2 separate regions of the Homo sapiens genome follow, and region 1 is linked to region 2. Evidence: promoter capture Hi-C in 16 types of primary human blood cells and fetal thymus (Javierre and others, 2016). All regions are on one chromosome and are shown on one strand. The core of a region is centred on a gene start or on the middle of the fragment in contact, and the rest is flanking DNA. Distances in the headings are between cores, read along the strand shown. Region 1 overlaps FTX (FTX transcript, XIST regulator). Region 2 holds the start of OGT (O-linked N-acetylglucosamine (GlcNAc) transferase).

The links. Contacts are between HindIII fragments. The CHiCAGO score rates a contact against its expected background, and 5 or more counts as called.
Region 1: a fragment that was not itself captured here is called in contact with the fragment with the promoter of OGT in region 2 in 1 of 17 cell types (neutrophils); the score reaches 6.6 in neutrophils.

The regions. Positions count from the first base shown.
Region 1 is chrX:74,241,431-74,246,849 of GRCh38, reverse strand. The region is part of intron 5 of FTX (FTX transcript, XIST regulator); the gene reads left to right. It also overlaps the pseudogene RN7SL648P. Among named protein-coding and RNA genes, the nearest start is that of MIR374B, 26 kb to the right of the region's middle. The HindIII fragment of the contact is 8,000 bases long and covers 1-5,328 here.
Region 2 is chrX:71,529,665-71,535,053 of GRCh38, reverse strand. It overlaps OGT (O-linked N-acetylglucosamine (GlcNAc) transferase), which reads right to left and starts at 1,950. Exons shown (of 22, transcript NM_181672.3): 1 at 1,718-1,950. The coding sequence starts at 1,754. It also overlaps a transcript of TAF1 not described here. RefSeq lists enhancers at 1,376-2,034, 1,860-2,199, 1,700-2,899. The HindIII fragment of the contact is 929 bases long and covers 1,597-2,525 here.

The DNA of each region.
Region 1 (5,419 bases), core at 79-2,578, 2.7 Mb before region 2:
AAGAGTGCATGTAACATAGTAACAGTAGCAGAGCTATATCAGAAACAGTTCTGATAATATTTCATGATCTATAGTTTGTTGCATGCCCATTGCTTCATACTGCTTGTGTTCTTGGTTGAGTCATAAGTAATTTTTATGGGGTGTGTCATGACTGTCATATTCATAGAGAGTTGTCTGCCTTGCCCCATGGTCTTTGCATGGCTTAAACAGGACCCCTTTTCATACACAAGTCATTCAATTTTATGTTTTTAATAGCATCAATTTTAGTGTTTAACATGTGTCTCTGGACTATGCATCAGAATACTTGACTGTTAGTGTGAAATGAAAATTCATGGATATCATAATTTATGTAACATAATTTAACATTTCTTTATTAATAAGACTTTAGATTGTCCCTTTCACAAAAAAATGGTGCGGTTAAAACTTAATCCTTGTGTCTTTTTGTGAGTAGTTCTATGATTTCTATATGATGGCATCCTTGAAAAAGTTGGTAAAAATAAGAATAGTTCTTATTTATTAAAGTTCTTCTCAAATTGCTCTTCCAAAACATTTTAGTTTATACTGCAATGTTAACCATTTTACACTTGCTTAAGTAATTTTCTTCAAATACACACGAGTCCAGGCTATTTAACCTTATTTTACCGCTATAGCACAAAACAGGTTTTCCAAAATTGTCCTTGCACACCTGGGATTTTACAAGGATATTATAATCTTGGTTCAGTTTGACTTACTGAATTTGTAGTAAGTATATTTTAGCACATAGAAAATTCAAAATATGTGTTAATCTGTTTATAGGGTAAATTTTTATGAGGGTGGATGTCATCCTGTTTTTTTTTTTTTTAATAAATGTTTTGTTTCAGAATGTTTTTTATTTACAGAAAAGTTACAAACATAGTACAGAGAGTTCCCAAATGCTCCACACCGAGTTTTCCCTATTGTTTTTTTTTTTTTTTTTGAGATGGAGTCTCGCTCTGTTGCCCAGGCTGGAGTGCAGTGGTGCAATTTCGGCTCACTGCAAGCTCCGCCTCCCGGGTGCACCCCATTCTCCTGCCTCAGCCTCCGGAGTAGCTGGGACTACAGGTGCCCGCCACCGTGCCCGGCTAATTTTTTGTATTTTTATTAGAGACGAGGTTTCACTGTGTTAGCCAGGATGGTCTCGATCTCCTGACCTCGTGATCCGCCCGCCTCGGCCTCCCAAAGTGCTGGGATTACAGGCCTGAGCCACCGAGCCCGACCAGTTTTCCCTATTGTTAATATCTTGAATTAGTATAGTACATTTGTCTCCTTCTCCTTTTTGCCCTTGGTAACCTCTAATCTACTTTCAGTCTCTGAATTTGCCTATTCCAAATATTTTGTATAAGTGGAATCATACAATATTTGTCCTTTTGCTTCTGGCGTATTTCACTTAGCACAATGCCTTCAAGGTTCATCCATGTTATAGCATATGTCAGAACTTTATTCTTTTTTATAGCTGAATAATATTTCATTGTGTGTATATGCCACATTTTGTTTATCATTCATTTTGTTTATGTACCATGTTTTGTTTATATACATCTATTAGTATGTATTTGTTTAGATATACAATTTGCTTGTATACCACATTTTGTTTTTCTGCTATCTAATGGATTATGCTGCTCTGGAACATTCATGTGATGCTTTTGTTAATTGCTTATACATTTTATTAAGCTAATGAGCTTGGTCATAGTAACATATAAAATCAAGAATCGTTTAACTTTTGCAATAAAAATCTTGATGTTGACTCTGAAGTAGTAAGATGCAACTTCAATGTACTGGGATTGAGGCAGCCATAGCAATATTACCACAGGTTTTCCAAAAATTAACACAAATATTTTCTATTCTAGATGTGATATCTTTGGCATCACTGTTCATTCTTTTCCTCCTTGATTAAAGTGAAACAATTACATTAAAATAGTTTTATGATTTAAAAATCATTCTTTTTTTAAGCTATTATTTTTAATGTAGGTCAGTGTGTTATGTAAATTGATGTCCACTACCTGAACATGTGATGCTTTCTCTTTTATTCCTTGGTATTTCCTCCATATTCTCTGAGGGCCTTCAGTCAATTTTTTTAAAGGAAATAATAAGTTCAAATATGTATCTATGACTTAGGGTTACAAAGAATATTTTCTTTGCCTCCAGTATACTTTGTATTAAAAAAATTATAAAAGGCCATAGGTATTCATTTTCAAATATTTGAAAAAAAAAGGCATGGCACAATTAAAGCATATGCAGAACCAACTTGGATTATTGCTATATTTCTTTCTTTCTAGTGTGTACGGATATTGATGACATTTTTAGGTGGCTCTTAACAAGAACATTTTCCTCTCTTTAGATGTGAATGCATAGAATTCTTTCATTTGGACCAGGATCGTTTTAAAACATTTCCTTTATTTTTTGATTAAATTTTTTTCCTTTTAAATATTAGGACTTAGTTTTTTATTAAATTTGAACATAATATATTTAACATACTTACGGATACATTTTTGTGGGCATATTTCTCTGACAATTTCTCTTATTACAAACCAAACTTGTTAGTGACCTGATTTTGTGTGTGTGTGTGTGTGTGTGTGTGTGTGTGTGTGCGCGCATGCGCGCGTGTTTTGCATTTCTATTCTTTGTTTTCTAGTTTCATCCCTATGCTAGGACATGGCTGTGTTCGTTTCTCTTTCACTAGATTTTTTTAATGACTGTAAGGTTATTCTACGCTTGTAATCTGCTTTTGCAGTACTTTTCCATCAAAAACAACTGTGTTACTTCTCATTTAAATATTTATTTATTTATTTTTGAGACAGGGTTTCGCTCTGTCACCCAGGCTGGAGTGCAGTGTCGTGATCTTGGCTCACTGCGGCCTCTGTCTCCTGGGTTCAAGCAATTCTCCTGCCCCAGCTTCCCGAGTAGCTGGGACTACAGGTGGACACCACCACTCCTGGCTAATTTTTGTATTTTTAGTAGGGACGGGGTTTCACCATGTTGACCAGGCTGGTCTCCAACTCCTGACCTCAAGTGATCTGCCTGCCTCAGCCTCCCAAAGTGCTGGGGGATTATAGGAATAAGCCACTATGCCCGGCCTCATTTAAATATCTCTTAATCATCTTTTACCTGTTTTTCCATTCTAAGCAGTGCATTCTTTTTTTTATAGCAGTCTTTTGATAACAATAGCTAAGAGGCCAGGCACGGTGGCTCATGCCTGTAATTCCAGCACTTTGGGAGGCTGAGGCAGGCGGATCACCTGAGGTTGAGAGTTCGAGACCAGCCTGGGCCAACATGGTGAAACCCCGTCTCTACTTAAAAAAAAAAAAAAAGAATTAGCTGGGTGTAGTGGTGCATGCATGTCATCCCAGCTACTCTGGAAGCTGAGGCATGAGAATTGCTTGAACCCAGGAGGTGGAGGTTGCAGTGAGCCAAGATCGCGCCACTGCACTCCAGACTGGGTGACAGACTAAGAGAGTCTGTCTCAAAAAAAAAACAAAAAACAAGCAAACAAAAACCTCCCAAGAGTTAACATTAACTGAGCATACATTAAATGGTAAGTGTCACACACTGTTCTATGTATGCATAGCTCAGTTTTTAACTTAGGAAGTAAATTCTAATAATATTCCTTATTTTTTTCTGATGGGGTAATTGAGGGCAGCTACTCTCAGTAACATTGAACCCGATAGCACATAGTGAAGACTCATTATCTTTATCAATGATGTGTCAGTTGGAGGTAAAAATTAGGTCCTTTTCAATATCCAGTGGTGACTGTGCTCCTAGGAAGATCAGCCAAGGATACACAGTCCGAAAAGTTTATAGCTTAGGTAGGTAGGATTAAGTGCAGTGCCTCTCTAGTACACACCTGGATGTGACTCTTGTGTCCACATGTTTTTCAAACCTGGCAGGAACAATAACCCCATTCAGAAATGACTTCTAAAAAGGCTATTTTTGCGGGCTTGCAGGCATGCACTTGTAGCCCTAGCTACTCAGGAGGGTGAGGAGGGAGGATTGCTTGATCCCAGGAATTCTGAGCTGTAGTGAGCTATGCCGATTGGATTCCTGCACTAAATTTGGCATCAATATGGTGACCTCCCGGGCACGGGGGATCACCAGGTTGCCTGAGGAGGGGTGAACCAGCCCAGGTCGGGAATGGAGCGGGTCAAAACTCCCATGATGATCAGTAGTGAGATCATGCCTGTGAATAGCCATTACACTTCAGCCTGGGCAACATAGCAAGAATCAATCTCGCTCTCTCTCTTTTTTTTTTTTTTTAAAGAGCCAACCTTAGGAAGAAATGCCTTTTTTTTTTTCTTTTTAAAGGACATTTCTTCTAAGGTTGGCTTGTTTTAGGGATAGCCAAACCTACAGGTTGTTCTAATTGATATACTCATCTCACCAACACTAATGTTACTATTGTTTTTATTACATTTCAAAGAGGTCATCAAATCAATAAAAGTTCAGAACTTGGCAAGAATGGCTAGCCAGTAAATTCTAGACTTTCTCTTTGAACCCCCATGTCTTACAATGCAAGAATGTAACCTCTTAATTGCTCTATTTGTATTACATTGTCATCTTTGGACTTTCCTGGATACCCTTGATCTCTCTGGTATTTCCTGTTATGGTGAGTCTGTCCTAACAGCCTTATTTATAGACATGTTTTTGCACATTAACCACACTCCATGGAAGAAGCCCTTTAACATGAGACTTGTTCCTAAGTACTCCACTGGCTTACCAAGTATAGGATTACCCTTTGATTACTTTATCTGGCTACCAGGACAGAGAGATTCTTGGGAGCCAACCAGCCATCAGGTCAACTATTTTGCTACAGATACTGCTTTCTGGGTTTAGTCCCCTGTACTTTCAGGTCTTCAGCCTCAGTTTGACTTCCTGGCTTCTTCAGTGAGGATTTTAGAGTTATGTCAGGTGAGGAATCAATCCATCCAGTCTGAAATGTTGCTGGGAGGAGGGCTGTCTTTCTGTAACAGGGGAAAGTTTTATTTATTTGAACTACAGAATAAGTTATAGACTATAATGCATTGTACAATTGTTTGATTTTAAAGAAAACTCATTATAGCTTTACTGTTCCAAAACTGAACATCTTATGTCTGCATTCCTATTTATTTATGATCTACTCTGGGCCTTGCAGATATTCTGTTTCCTGGGTCCTCTAGCAAGTTAATTATTGGTATTAATCATCTAACAAATTAGTTATTAATGTACATTGTACAGATAAGTGTGAATTGGAGAGAATAATTTTAACAAGATCAGAATGCCTTCCAGTTCAATTTGAATTCGAAGGCTTAATTCATGGCATTTTATAGTTCAAAGAAAGCTTTGAATTATTTTGGATATACTAACATATATTACAGGAAGAGAAGTATGGATAAATTTCCCAATAGTTGCCTAGCAGAAGTATATACTTAGT
Region 2 (5,389 bases), core at 701-3,200:
AACCATGGACAAATTATTTAATTCTACCAAGGTTAAGGTGACTAGTTCAAATTTGAGCCCAGCTCCCCAATCATCAGAGCTGATGAGCGTTCCGGATACTGAGGAAAGCAAAGTAAATTTCCTGACAGAATGCACAGCTGACCACCAACACAAAGAGCATTGAGACTTGCATCCACATCTGGGAGAGGTTATATCTTTAATAGAAACTAAAATTACATTTTAGCTAAGTCTCTAGAACTTCCTAGCTCCTTGTTTTCACACATTACTTTGTCACTTTTCAATGCCGCTTATCTGCTATTTTAACACTTGAAACGACAGCTTTCTCAAATAAATAACACATTAAAAAGGGCAAGCTAGTACAGAATCCAGTACAGAATCTTAAACCTTTGAAAATCACGGTGGAGACGTGGGGAGAGGAGCACGGACTAATTATTAATCCCACTCCCTACAATTACGGATAAGACACTATTGACGATTCACCTACTACTTACAGCACAACTTCCAGGAACAGTAGCTAAAACCCTCCACACATCTCAACTGAGAAACAACCAAAAAATAACCTCGCGGGAAACCTCAGAAGCGCAGCCCAATTCCCCACCCCCTTCCGCCCAAATCGCCTCAATATGGAAAGGCAGCTGAAGGACACTCCTACAATTTGGTTGTTTTCGTATTTTCAGTACCAAATGCTCGCGACTGAAGTGTCTAAAAGGGCAACCGCCTTGTACTTGTGCAGCTACACTCCAGTTGCTTTACAAACTCTTCAAGCAGGGATGGAAACTTAAAAGAATATTACACCCTGTGAATAAAGAGATACTGGGCTGAAGAATGGGGATGGCAGACCCAGAGGCGGCGGCGGAGGAATACATCGAGAAAGTAACACAAAGCGAGAATTGGGCGGGCAGGGTGGTCAACGCCAAAGCAGCAGCATCGGGGTGGTTTCTCCCCCAAGGATAGGAAGTGAACAGGGCTGGCAACCTCGCGAAGGGAAGGGTGTGGTTCCCCGCGGACAGGGTGGGAAATCCAGGCTGAGGGCAGCGGTGGAATTGGGCGATGGCAAAGGAAACCCCTGGAAATTTCCAATCTAAACCGGGACCGCTCAACCGAAAGAACACCAGAAAGGCACTGCCTAGCAGGGTGCTGCTCAATGTCCCCTCTTCTCGAGGTGACTTGTGGCACCATCGACGAGCTTTTGATCGTCCTCGGGTGATGCAAAGTGAGGATATGATTACATCGGAACGGCACCCCCGCCCTAGATTGGCAGAGAAGGACCAAATCTGGCTAAGGGGAAAAGACTGGGGGGGGAGATGAAGGAGGAGATGGAGGGGAAAAAGGAGAGGCGATGAGCTGGAATTAGGGGAGAAAACCGCTGCAAAGGAGTGAAAGGGCAGGGATTCCAATGCAGTCCATTCCACGACATTCTAAGCGCGCACGTGTGATAAAAGCGCCTGGAGAGAGTGGAATGCTAGAACATTTACGAAATAAAAACAAAGCAAGAAAGGCAGCAAAAAGCAAGCAAGGGAGGAGGAGGAAATGTTCGGGAAGCGGACAACAGCGGAAAACCCGATGTGATCAGATGCCAGTAGACCACGAAAAGCTTAGCAATGTCACTGATGTAATGGGGATGGTTCGAGGGAAGGGAGGGAAGGAGTGATACAAGGTAGAGGACGGCGCGAGACCCCAAGGGGGCATCTGCCAAGGTAGAACGGGACACCGGTACCTGTGCTGTCGGCCACGTTGCCCACGGAAGACGCCATCTGGAGCTTCTCGAGGGAGAGCAAAAAAGAGGTAATTGGTCCTGCTGCCGCCACTACCAGCAAGAACGTATTTGGAGGTAGTAGTACAAGGGCAGCAGCCGTAGCAATGCTCTGGAGGGCTTGAGCGGCGGCAGCAGTTACAGGCTTCAAACCCTGGGAACTCTAATTGACCATCTACCTAGTACGGTCTTGAAATGGCGGCGACGGCTCCTCGGCCGAAACAACATGGGCCGGAACTACTTTCTGTTACAATCAAGTGCCCGCGCGGAGGTAGCCGGTAACCAGCGCCGCCAACAAAATGACTTCAAGCTGCAAAGTCGAGATTCCATGTAGTCCTCCGCGCAGCGCCCATTGCGACAAACACCACGGTGGAGACCGCGCATGCGAGCAGCCCTGTCAACCCGACTCGTGGTTAGGGCACTCTCTGGGGCGGAAGCGGCCAAGTTTCTTAAGAGTGTAGCGGAAGGGTAAAAACAAACACACACGGGACGGATACGTTTTTGCCACCGCGATTAAGAAGAGTGTTTGTTACTTAGCAGGTGGTGTCGTTTTAAACATAAATGCCAAAGGCGTCTAAAAAAGTTTATCAACTGTATTCGTACAAAAACGGATGGTTACGACTCTCACGGATCAATTCTGAGCCAGTCAATTCAGAAGATTGCCTCTCAAAGACAGCTGCTCAAAACGAGGAGCGAGAGGGTTCCGATTTGAGCCCGTCTTCATTGTGACTCGGCCATCGATTTCAGCACTTCGATGAAAAAGACTGAAGCTTTCACAGGGCCAGTTGAATGCAGACACCTTCAATGTTGGCCGTATAGCCTGAAATTTCAAAATCGTTTTGGTATTCAGAATACTCCTGCCCACGGTGATAGGGCAAATGTTTAATAACTCAGGGACATGCTGGGCGTTTGCACTCCGAAGGCAGCCATAAAAATGTTAAAGGTGATTCACGTTCGTCAAAATCCATGACTCTCCTCGAGTTGTGACTTCATTTCCACCAGCTAGCTCTGCACATTGTCACAGTCGGCGATTCCACTGAGCTCAAAGCAGATCAACAATGATAAATGAATTCACTTGCCATCTGCCTAAACCACACGTCTAGATTGAGTCATGAATTGCCTCTACTTCCTTGAACAAATCGGTTCTTACGATCTTCCTGCAGTTTCAAGTCTACTGTTCAGACATTTTGTCACATTGGTATTTATACTTCACCTCTTGTTCTAGAAACGACTTAAGGTAGCTTGCCACATCAGCAAGAAAGTATTACAAGCCACTGGAGGCTACAAGTTGGATCTCTGAGAGCCTTTTTATTTCAAAAAGTCCTTGATCTAAGAAAGCAGGTCAATGAATTTCTTCAAAAAGTTTTTGCTACCTAGCCCCTTCACTACATTTTTTAAAACTAAGTCCTCAAATTCTGCTTAAATTTCTTCAAAACAGTCAACAAACAATTAATTATGGAAATGGCACAGAGAAAATTCATAATGCTAATTTCTTCCATCCCATAATCAAGAGTCACATCATGCAGTGAAAAAGACAAAAATCACTACACAAACTCTCCTGAAAATTGAGCACCAACCTCTTGTAATTTGATTTAACTGGTAAAACCTCCCCCCCGCACACACACACCTACTACAAGTTCCCTATCTGTAATGAGTAAACTCAGCTTTTCAACTTTTAGAAGAGACTTCTCAGATTCCACTGGCAGATGTTTAGGCCTTGCTGATGAGCGGGTGCTAGCTAATTAACAAAAACTCTTTTTGTTGTTAAATGCAGGTCATGTTCCTAATTCTTCAGCCAATAAGTAACATTTACTAGAGTCTCTATGTGCAAGGCACTGTGGGGGGCACAAAAATGAACAGAAATCCTCGCCCTCAAGGAATCTGAAGCCTAGTTAGGTAGACACAAAAAGCTACTAGAGAGCAATACAGAAGACTATTTAGATGATAAAATATATTACTCTCTATGAATATCTAGGGAGGAAACAGGTAAGGTTGGAGGGGGTGAGAAAGAAGCCTTGATCTAGACATTGAAGGAAGTGCTTTTGTATGTTTTTTATTGTTGTTCACATTGATTTCTGGGTTTTTTTTATGTGCAATTTTAAATTTAGAACCAATTATAATTAAATCAGCTGGGTCTTCAACCCCAATCCCAAACTTTGTCACCCAGTAACACCACTGATGTTGCATTACTTTTTTTGCTGCTGTGTAACAAAGTATCACAAATACAGCTGCTCAGAACAACACACATTTCACAGCAGTAGCACCAGCGCTGGATGAGACCCGGGCTGGTGGCTGCTGTTGCACTGCTGCTGAAAAAAAATGGCTCCAAAGGTTAAATGAAGCCAAAGAAATACATAGATGTGAGAGGAGAAGCCAGCTGGACTTCCTGGGTTGGGTGGGGACTTAAAGAACTTTTCTGTCTTACAAGAGGATTGTAAAATGCACCAATCAGCACTCTGTAGCTAGGATTGTAAAACGCACCAATCAGCGCTCTGTGGCTAGCTAGAGGTTTGTAAAATGCGCCAATCAGTGCTCTGTAAAAACACACCAATCAGTGCTCTGTGGCTAGCTAGAGGTTTGTAAAATGGACCAATCAGCAGTCTGTAAAATGGACCAATCAGCGCTCTGTAAAATGGACCAATTAGCACCTTGTAAAATGGACCAATCAGCACTCTGTAAAATGGACCAATCAGCAGGACATGGGTGGGGACAAATAAGGGAATAAAAGCTGGCCACATTCCGCACCCACCCACCCACCCACCCACCAGGCCAGTAGTAGCAACCCACTCGGGTCTCTTTCCACACCGTGGAAGCTGTGTTCTTTCCGTCTTCACAATGAATCTTGCTGCTGCTCACTCTTTGAGTCCGTGCCACCTTTAAGAGCTGTAACACTCACCGTGAAGGTCCGTGGCTTCATTCTTGAAGTCAGCGAGACCAGGAACCCACCAAAAGGAACCAACTCCAGAACCACCTCCGGAGGGAGATGCAGCCGCACAGGCTCTCCAGGGGTGCGGGACTAATATTCCAGAGAGAAATTGGTCCCCTGGATGAAGTAACCAGTCACAAAGACTAATTAAAATTGATCTTAAAACCTTCCAGAAATCTTGTAACCTGAATAAAAGTAAAGAAGAAACTGATTTCATGGTAGTACAACAACCATCACTAACTAGTGAATGTGGAAAAGATGATTTCTTATTTGGTAGCTGCACTGGTAAAGATATGGCCACCTGTGATATCAACAGTGAAAGATGAAAAAGGTAAAAAAGGAAAAAACAATGAAAGCCTAATGAGTACATTGAAAAAGGCAGCTTTCTGCAAAACAAAAGCAGAACAGCAAGGGGAGCACACCCTATGGGAGTTCTGCCAGATGAGGATACTTTTTCTCTCAGCACCAACAGTCTTTAAAGATGTGAGAGCTCAAAGACCAATAAGGTCCACTTCCCTCCACAATCCTCACTGTAGTCCTCTCCTTGGCTTACAAACTAAGGAGACACGTATCAAAACGGAGATGAGACGAAGAGACTCAAAGCCTTGGTTCATTCTTCCAATCCAAGTCTGGCACGGATTTTCACTATCTTCAGCCTGAAGCTGCATACAAAGAACAAAGTAAAGAGTTCAAAATTTCAGAATGGAGAC